2 separate regions of the Homo sapiens genome follow, and region 1 is linked to region 2. The links are contacts of gene promoters, found by promoter capture Hi-C in human tissues and cell types (Jung and others, 2019). All regions are on one chromosome and are shown on one strand. The core of a region is centred on a gene start or on the middle of the fragment in contact, and the rest is flanking DNA. Distances in the headings are between cores, read along the strand shown. Region 1 has its middle 6.2 kb from the start of MPV17L2. Region 2 holds the start of PGLS (6-phosphogluconolactonase).

Region 1 (4,702 bases), core at 1,893-4,392, 670 kb before region 2:
GATCCCAGAACTTAAAGTATAATAATAGTAAAAAAGAATTCAATGTAGATGTATGGATTTGGTTCTGGGTTCTCCATTCTGTTCCATTTATGTATGTGTCTATTTTTGTGCTGGTACTATGCTGTTTTTGTTACTGTAGATCTATAGTATAATTGAATGTTGGGTAATGGGATTCCTCCAGTTTTGTTCTGTTTGCTCAGGATAGTTTTGGCTATTCAAGGTCTTTTGTGATTTCATATAAATTTAGGACTGTTTTTTAGAACTGTTCTTTCTGTTTTGTGTGAAGAATGTCATTGGTATTGTATTTTGATGGAAATTGCATTGAATCTGTAGGTTGCTTTGTGTAGTATGGACATTTTGACAATATGGATTTTTCCAATCCATAACTACAGAATATCTTAAAAAATAATAATAATAATAAGGCCGGTGCGGTGGCTCACGCCTGTAATCCCAGCACTTTGGGAGGCCGAGGTGGGCGGATCATGAGGTCAGGAGATCGAGACCACAGTGAAACCCCGTCTCTACTAAAAATACAAAAAATTAGACGGGTGTGGTGGCGGGCGCCCGTAGTCCCAGTTACTCAGAGAGGCTGAGGCAGGAGAATGGCGTGAACCCGGGGAGGTGGAGGTTGCAGTGAGCCAAGATCGTGCCACTTGCACTCCAGCCTGGCGACAGAGCTAGACTCTATCTCAAAAAAAAAAAAAAAAAAAAAGAAAGAAAGAAAGAAAGAAAAAGAAAAACCTGATTAACTTCAGGTTACTTTTTTTGGTAAGTGTTAAAGCAGAGGGGACTTCCTTATCGGGCTAATTCAGGTAGACTAAAATCTTTTTTTTTTGAGACAGAGTCTCGCTCTGTCGCCCAGGCTGGAGTGCAGTGGCGCGATCTCGGCTCGCTGCAAGCTCCGCCTCCCGGGCTCACGCCATTCTCCTGCCTCAGCCTCCCCAGTAGCTGGGACCACAGGCACCAGCCACCACGCCTGGCTAATTTTTTGTATTTTTAGTAGAGAGGGGGTTTCACCATGTTAGCCAGGATGGTCTCGATCTCCTGACCTTGTGATCCGCCCACCTCGGCCTCCCAAAGTGCTGGGATTACAGGCATGAGCCACCGTGCCCGGCCCAGGTAGACTAAAATCTATTTTTAGGAAAGACAGCTGGGCACAGTGGACCATGCCTATAATACCAGCACCTTGGGAGGCTGAGGCAGGAGGATCGCTTGAGGCCAGGAGTTCAAGACCAGCCTGGGCAACTTGGCCAGAACCTCATCTCTACAAAACAAATTTAAAAAAAAAAAAAATAAGAAACTGATCTGTTTGGGATATGTCTGCTTCCTCAAAGTTTCAGTTTGATTATGTGGCATTTAGCACGAGTGACTCCATTCTGGTTTCATCTGGTCTGTTGGTGCCTAGTGCAGGAGCTCAGTCCAAAACAGTGGTCTCCCATAGTTTTGTTTGACATTGAGCTGACCATTTGGTAATCTACAAATGGATTACTGGTTGCTGAGAGACAATGGTGGATAAATTAAGAATTTATTGGCCAGGCACGGTGGCTCATGCCTGTAATCCGAGCACTTTGGGAGGCTGGGGCGGGTGGATCACTTGAGGTCAGGAGTTCAAGGCCAGTCAGGCCAACATGGCAAAACCCCATCTCTACTAAAAATACAAAAATTAGCTAGGTGTGGTGGTGCATGTCTGTAATCTGAGCTACTTGGAGGCTGAGGCAGGAGAATCGCTTGAACCTGGGAGGCGGAGTTTGCAGTGAGCTGAGATCATGCCATTGCACTCCAGCCTGGGCGACAGAGCGAGATTTTGTCTCAAAAAAAAAAAAAAAAATTGTTGCTTGGCCGGGCTCGGTGGCTTATGCCTGTAATCCTACCATTTGGGACCTGGATGCAGGAGGATCGCTTGAGGTCAGGAGTTGGAGTTGCCCAGATGCCTGGGCAACATGGTAAGACCAGGTAACATGGTAAGACCGGATAACAAAATTATCCGGGTACGGTAGTGCACACCTGTAGTCCCAGCTACTTGAGAGGCTGACGTGGGAGGATCGCTTGAGTCCCAGAGGCTGAGTCTTCAGCTGGCTGAGATGGTGACACTACACTCTGGCCTGGATGACACAGCGAGACCCTGCCTCAAAAAGTAAAATAAAAAATAAAATTAAGAGAATTTATGGGGCTGGGTGCGGTGGGTCATGGCTGTAATTCCATCACTTTGGGAGGCCGAGGCAGGCGGATCACCTGATGTCGGGAGTTCAAGACCAGCCTGGCCAACATAGTGAAACCCCGTCTCTACTAAAAATACAAAAATCAGCCAGGCATGATGGCGGGTGCCTGTAATCCCAGCTACATGGGAGGCTGAGGCGGGAGAATCACTTGAACCCGGGAGGCAAAGGTTGCAGTGAGCCGAGATCTTGTCATTGCACTCCAGCCTGGGCGACAGAGCCAGGCTCTGTCTCAAAAACAGAAAAACAAAAGATACTTTATTGCTTCCCAGGAAGAGCAGCTTTTGATACCTGGCAGTAATTTTTGTATGTTTCTGTTGATAGTGTTCAGGACATGTCACCCATAACATACCAGCATACAACTTTGGCATATTGATATTGAGAATTTTGAGTTAAACACACTTGCAAACAGTGGATGCAAGAAGGGCTCTTCTTTTTATTTTTTTGAGAGGGAGTCTCACTCTGTTGCCCAGTCTGGAGTGCAGTGGCATGATCTTGGCTCACTGCAACCTCCACCTCCCGGGTTCAAGTGATTCTCTTATCTCAGCCTTCCAAGTATCTGGGATTACAGGCATGTACCACCATGGCCGGCTAATTTTTGTATGTCTAGTAGAGACGGGGTTTTGCCATGTTGGTCTGGCTGGTCTTGATCCCCTGACCTCAGTTATCTGCCCATCTCAGCCTCCCAAAATTCTAGGATTACAGGCACGAACCACCGCAGCCAGCCCAGAAGGGCTCTGTGATCTATCTTTTTATTTTTTCTTTATTTTTGAGAAGGAGTCTCACTCTGTTGCCCAGGCTGGAGTGCAGTGGCGCGATCTCAGCTCACTGCAACCTCCGCCACCCAGGTTCAAGTGATTCTCCTGCCTCAGCCTCCCAAGTAGCTAGGATTATGGGCGCCCGCCACCACGCCTGGCTAATTTTTGTATTTTTACTAGAGACGGGTTTTATCATGTTGGCCAGGCTGGTCTTGAACTCCTGACCTCAGGTGATCCCCCAGCCTCTGCCTCACAAAGTACTGGGATTACAGGCATGAGCTACCGTGCCCGGCCAAAATTTTTAAAAAATTAGCCAGGTGTGGTGGTGTGCAACTCTAGTCCCAACTACTTGGGAGGCTGAGACAGGAGGATTGCTTGGGCCTGAGAGGTCAAGGCTTCAGTGAGCTGTGATCCCGCTACTGCACTCCAGTCTGGATGACACAGCAAGACCCTGTCTCAAAACAAACACTTAGGTCTAGTTACTTTTTTCGGTCTCCATTTTTCTCGTGAGGGCTCCCATCTACAATGAATAAGCTTTGTGTGCTATTGTTTTGTTAATCTGTCTGTCAGTCTGAGCCAGACACCAGAGAGAGGAGGAAAGCTCTAGCCCTGCTAGTTTCTGGTGATGAGGATGGGCTACAATTGGCTGGGAATATCTGCTCCCTCTGGGGTCTGCAGGGGAGAAATGCTGGGACCTGACAAGCCAATGCAAAGTAAGAATTCAGCCGGACGCGGTGGCTCATGCCTGTAATCCCAGCTTTTTGAGAGGCTGAGGTGGGTGGATTACTTGAGGTCAGGAGATCAAGACCAGTCTGGCCAACACGGTGAAACCCCATCTCTACCAAAAAATAGCAAAATTAGCTGAGTGTGGTGGTGTGTGCCTGTAGTCCCAGTTACTCGGGAGTCTGAGGCAGGAGAATCACTGAAACCTGGGAAGCTGGGGTTTCAGTGAGCTGAGATAGCACCACTGAATTCCAGCCTGGGCAACAGAGTGAGACTTTGTCTCAGAAAAAAAAAAAAAAAAAAAAAAAGGCTGGCACGGTGACTCACACCAGTAATCCCAGCACTTTGGGAGGCCGAGGTGGGTGGATCACCTGAGGTCAGGAGTTCAAGACCAGCCTGGCCAACATGGTGAAACCCCGTCTCTACTAAAAATACAAAAAAATTATCCAGGCGTAGTGGCAGGCACCTGTAATCCCAGCTAATCGGGAGGCTGAGGCAGAAGAACCGCTTGAACCCGGGAAATGGAGGTTGCAGTGAGCCGAGAAAGTACCACTGCACTCCAGCCTGGGCAACAGAGCCAGACTCCGTCTCAAAAAAAAAAAAGAAAAGGACGAATTCTTATCAGGCTGGGATTATGGCTCACACCTGTGATCCCAGCACTTTGGGAGGCTGAAGCAGGAGGATCACTTGAGCTCAGGAGTTTGAGACCAGCCTGGGGAACATAGCAAGACCCCATCTCCACAAAAATTTAAAAAATTAGCTCGGATAGGTGGTGCATGCCTGTAGTCCCAGCTACTCAGAAGTTTGAGGCAAAGGGGATTCTAGAGCCCAGGATTTGGAGACTGCAGTGAGCTGTGATCACATCACTGCATTCCAGGCTGGGCAACAGAGCAAGACTCTTTCAGGGAAAAAAAAAAAGGTGCTGTATAACACCACCAGGTCACCCTTGGATACTTTCCTAGAAGAAGCCAAGAGCCCTCCTGGGCTAAGCCCAAAATTTGGGGC
Region 2 (4,227 bases), core at 754-3,253:
AGATGGGGTCTTGCCATGTTGGCTAGGCTGGTCTCCAACACCTGACCTCAGGTGATCCACCATCCTTGGCCTCCCAAAGTGCTGAGATTACAGGTATGAGCCACCACGCCCGGCCAAAAACCTGCTTTTTTTTTTTTTTATCTTTAAGACAGTCTCACTCTGTCGCCCAGGGTGGAGTGTAATGGCATGATCTCGGTTCACTGATCATGCCTCACTCCTGCCTCAGCCTCCCGAGTAGCTGGGATTACAGGTGCGCACCACCACACCTGGCTAATTTTTGCATTTTTAGTAGAGACAGGTTTCACCATGTTGGTCAGGTTGGTCTCAAACTCCTGACCTCGTGATCCGCCCGCCTCAGCCTCCCAAAGTGCTGGGATTACAAGCGTGAGCCACCGCACCCAGCCAATTTTTGTATTTTTTTTTAGTAGAGACAGAGTTTTGCCATGTTGGCCAGGCTGGTCTCGAAATCCTGACCTCAGGTGATCTACTCACGTCGGCCTCCCAAAGTGCTGGGATTACACGCGTGAGCCACCGCACCCGGCCAAAACTTTTTAATGATGCTCTTGGAAAACACACACAGGAAGGCGGAAGTTAAATGTGTACCCAACTACGAAGTCAGATGAGGCAGGATCACACCCTGGCTGCCCCTCTGGTCACTAGATGCCTTGGGCAGGTAAGCTCACCTCTTCTGGCCTCAGTTTCTCCATCTGTGAAATGAGTGTAACATCTCATAGGCTGTGGTACGGACTCATGAATTGATGCATATAAAGCGTTCAGTAAGCCTTTTCTCTTAATAAAAAACCCACAAAACCATCATCAGCTCAAGATTCTATGCAAAGAGAAGACGGCACACCCAGCATGGGGTGTCCCTTGACGCTGCCAGACTCAAGTGACTTGAGGTTCCTGGCCTTTGAGCCCGCCCCTCCCACTCTTCCCTCGGCCAGGCCAAGGCTCCTCCAAGCCTCAGTTACCCTGTCTTTAAAAGAGCGCGCTCCTCTGATTCTATAGAATCCTGAGGCTCAAAGCCAAAGATGAACAGCCTGGAAGCAGAGCCATCAGAGCGGCAAAGCTGCCCAGGGATCCCCGAGAACTCGCTGGGGTTAGAGATCAGGACCCTGAGATTCAGGCTCTACACCTGATTCCTCGTGCCCCCGTCCGCTACGGGGCTGAGTTATGGGCATCGTTTGACATGGGCCACTCGGATTCCCTTCCAGGCCCTTGCCCGTGCCGTTCCCTCTGCCTGGCCACCGGATGAAGCAGGAAGACGGACTGCAAGTAGACCATTTCTAGCCCTGCCTAGATAAAGGCAGAGGGCGCAGTGAGGTCCTGCGGGACCCACTGTAGGCGGGGTTCAGGAGGCGGGCGAGCCCTGTCGGCTAGACCCCCAGCGGCCCCCGTAGTCGAGGTGCAGGCAGTGGGCGTGACCATCTCGGCATGACCCCCAGTGGCCCCCGTAGCCGAGGGCAACCGGTGGGCGCGGCCCTCTTGGCATGACCCCCAGCGACCCACGTAGCCGAGGTGCAGGCAGTGGGCACGGCCCTCTTGGCATGATACCCAGTGGCCCCCGTAGCCGAGGTGCAGACAGTGGGCGCGGCCCTTTCGGCATGGCCCCCGGCGGCCTCCGTAGCCGGGGTGTAGGCGGTGGCTGTGGCCCTCTCGGCGTGATCCCCGGCGGCCCCCGTAGCTCTCACCCGGTAGAGGCCGTACGTGCTCTCGGCGTGATCGAAGGGCACGAGGCGCTCGTCGCAGAAGCCCAGCGTCCAGCGCGCTAAGCTAGCTGGCCCGGCAGGGGCGACGGCGGCGGGTAGCTCGCGGGCTAGCATCGAGACGAGGCTCCCGCCCGACAGGCCGAGCGCGAAACGGGCGCGGGCCCCTGCCAGGCAGCATGCTGCGCGCTGGGCCACCAGCTGCGCTAGCGCCGCACCCAGCTCCTGGGAACTCGAGAACACCGAGATGAGGCCCGGGGCCGGCGCGGCCATGGCGAGGGCGGCGGCGGGGAGGAGGAAGCGCTCCCTACGGCCGTCGCTAGTACGCCTGCGCAAGGGCCGGCCCTGCCGCTTGGTTTCGAGTACTTTGGGTGATTGTCTTTGGCACATGCGCAGTGAGGCAAGTGAAGCACCGCGAAGGTCGGGCAGTCGGTCCGGCCCTACCCATTGAATCTTTGCCTGCTGTGCCTGAGTCGAAGTGAGTTCGGGAAGCCAGTGCCCGAATGCTCAACCTTGCTGTATCAGGGAGGGCCGGAGAGGGGAGCTCAAGAAGAGGACGTCCTATCGAGGTGGCAGGGATTTTCTGAAGGAGGGCGTATTTTGGTGAGTTTTAAAATTCCTGCACCGCCGGGCGCGGTGGCTGACGCCTGTAATCCCAACACTTTGGGAGGCCGAGGCGGGCGGATCACGAGGTCAGGAGATCGAGACCATCCTGGCTAACACGGTGAAACCCCGTCTCTACTGAAAACACAAAAAATTAACCGGGCGTAGTGGCGGGCGCCTGTAGTCCCAGCTACTCGGGAGGCTGAGGCAGGAGAATCGCTTGAACCGGGGTGGCGGAGGTTGCAGTGAGCCGAGATCGTGCCACTGCACCCCAGCTTGGGCGACAGAGCGAGGCTCCATCTCAAAAAAAAGTAGGGGATGAAAATATGCTTGTTGAATTTTTTTTTTTTTTTTTTTTACATTTTCCGGACGGACGGGCTCTTGCTATATGGTCTAGGCTGATCTTGAACCCCTGGGCTCAAGCGATCTTCCTGCCTCGGCCTCCCAAAGTGGTAGCATTCAGGCGAAAGCCACTGCGCCTGGCCATGCTTGTTGAATTTTTTAAGCTAACCCTCCTAGTGTGGTGGTGTGTCCCTCTGAGTGCCCAGAAAGGCCTCCAATCGAGTTCTTGCCTGGACAGAGGGCTGGAAGGGGAAGAAGGCCTGGTGGGCCTGGGGAGGCTGGGCCACTTCTGAGAGTGGGATATTTCAGTGATGTGTGTAAGCGCAGTTCAACTCACACAGGTAGTGGATTTTAAAATCAGTAGCAAATTAAGAAAACAATTCCATTTACCATAGCATCATAAAGTATAAAGTAGGCATAAATTTAATAAAAGAAGTACAAGACTGTACTTCTTGAGAGCTGTAGCTGGGCTTGGTGGCTCACAGCTGTAATCCCAGCACGTTGGGAAGCCAAGGCTGGACCCGGTGGCAGCTGCCTGTGGTCCCAGCTACTTGGGAGGCTGTGGTGGGAGGATCACTTGAGCCCAGGAGACTAAGGCTGCAGTGAGCTGTGTTCCTGCCATTCCACTCCAGCCTGGGCAATAGAGTGAGACCCTGTCTCGAAACAAGCAAAAGAACTAAAACTTTGGTGAAAAAAAAAATTAAAGATGATCTAAATAAATGGTAAGACATTCCACGTTCATGGATTGGAAAGTATAATATTGTTAAGATGGCAGTACTCCACAAATTGGTCTACGGATGCAATGTAATCCCTTTCAAATTTACAATGTTTTTGTTGAAATTGACAAATTGATCCTAAAATTAATAATAAATTGCAAATGGCCCCAAAATAGCCAAAACAATATTGAATAAAATACGAGGACTCATACTTTCTCATTTCAAACAATAAAAAGGTACAATAACCAAAACTGTGGTATTGGCATAAGGATAGACATATAAATAAATGATTGGAACTGATGCAGAAATAAACCTATGCATATATGGTCAACTCATCTTTGGCAACGGTGCCAGGACTATTCAAAAAGAAAGGAGGGCTGGGCGTGGTGGCTCACGCCTGTAATTCCAGCACTTTGAGAGGCCAAGGCAGGTGGATCACCTGAGGTCGGGAGTTTAAGATCAGCCTGACCAACATGGAGAAACCCTGTCTCTACTAAAAATACAAAGCCTTAGCTGGGCGTGGTGGCACATGCCTGTAATCTCAGCTACTCGGGAGTCGGAGGCAGGAGAATGGCTTGAACCCCGGAGGTGGAGGTTGTGGTGAGCTGAGATCACGCCATTGCACTCCAGCCTGGGCAACGAGCAAAACTCTGTCTCAAAAAAAAAAAAAAAAAAAAAGGAATAGGCCAGGCGTGGTGCTTCACGCCTGTAATCCCAACACTTTGGCAGGCCAAGGTAGGCAGATCACCTGAGGTGAGGAGTTCGAGACCGGCCTCTCAAATGAAGTAGAAACCCCATCTCTACTAAAAATACAAAAATTAGCCAGGCGTAGTAGCTCATGCCTGTAATCCCAGCTATTC

Evidence for each region. Contacts are between HindIII fragments. The study calls those that stand out against the background at their distance.
Region 1: a fragment that was not itself captured here is called in contact with the fragment with the promoter of PGLS in region 2 in 1 of the 25 tissues and cell types used here (dorsolateral prefrontal cortex).

Annotation. Positions count from the first base shown.
Region 1 is chr19:18,184,620-18,189,321 of GRCh38, reverse strand. No RefSeq gene overlaps it. Among named protein-coding and RNA genes, the nearest start is that of MPV17L2, 6.2 kb to the left of the region's middle. The HindIII fragment of the contact is 5,661 bases long and covers 312-4,702 here.
Region 2 is chr19:17,509,425-17,513,651 of GRCh38, reverse strand. It overlaps PGLS (6-phosphogluconolactonase), which reads right to left and starts at 2,003. Exons shown (of 5, transcript NM_012088.3): 1 at 1,692-2,003. The coding sequence starts at 1,979. It overlaps PGLS-DT (PGLS divergent transcript), which reads left to right and starts at 1,763. Exons shown (of 3, transcript NR_147835.1): 1 at 1,763-2,309. RefSeq lists enhancers at 530-1,185, 1,016-1,275, 1,238-1,532, 2,026-2,275, 1,843-2,499 and 1 more and silencers at 1,238-1,532, 1,776-1,825, 1,836-1,965. The HindIII fragment of the contact is 13,558 bases long and covers 1-4,227 here.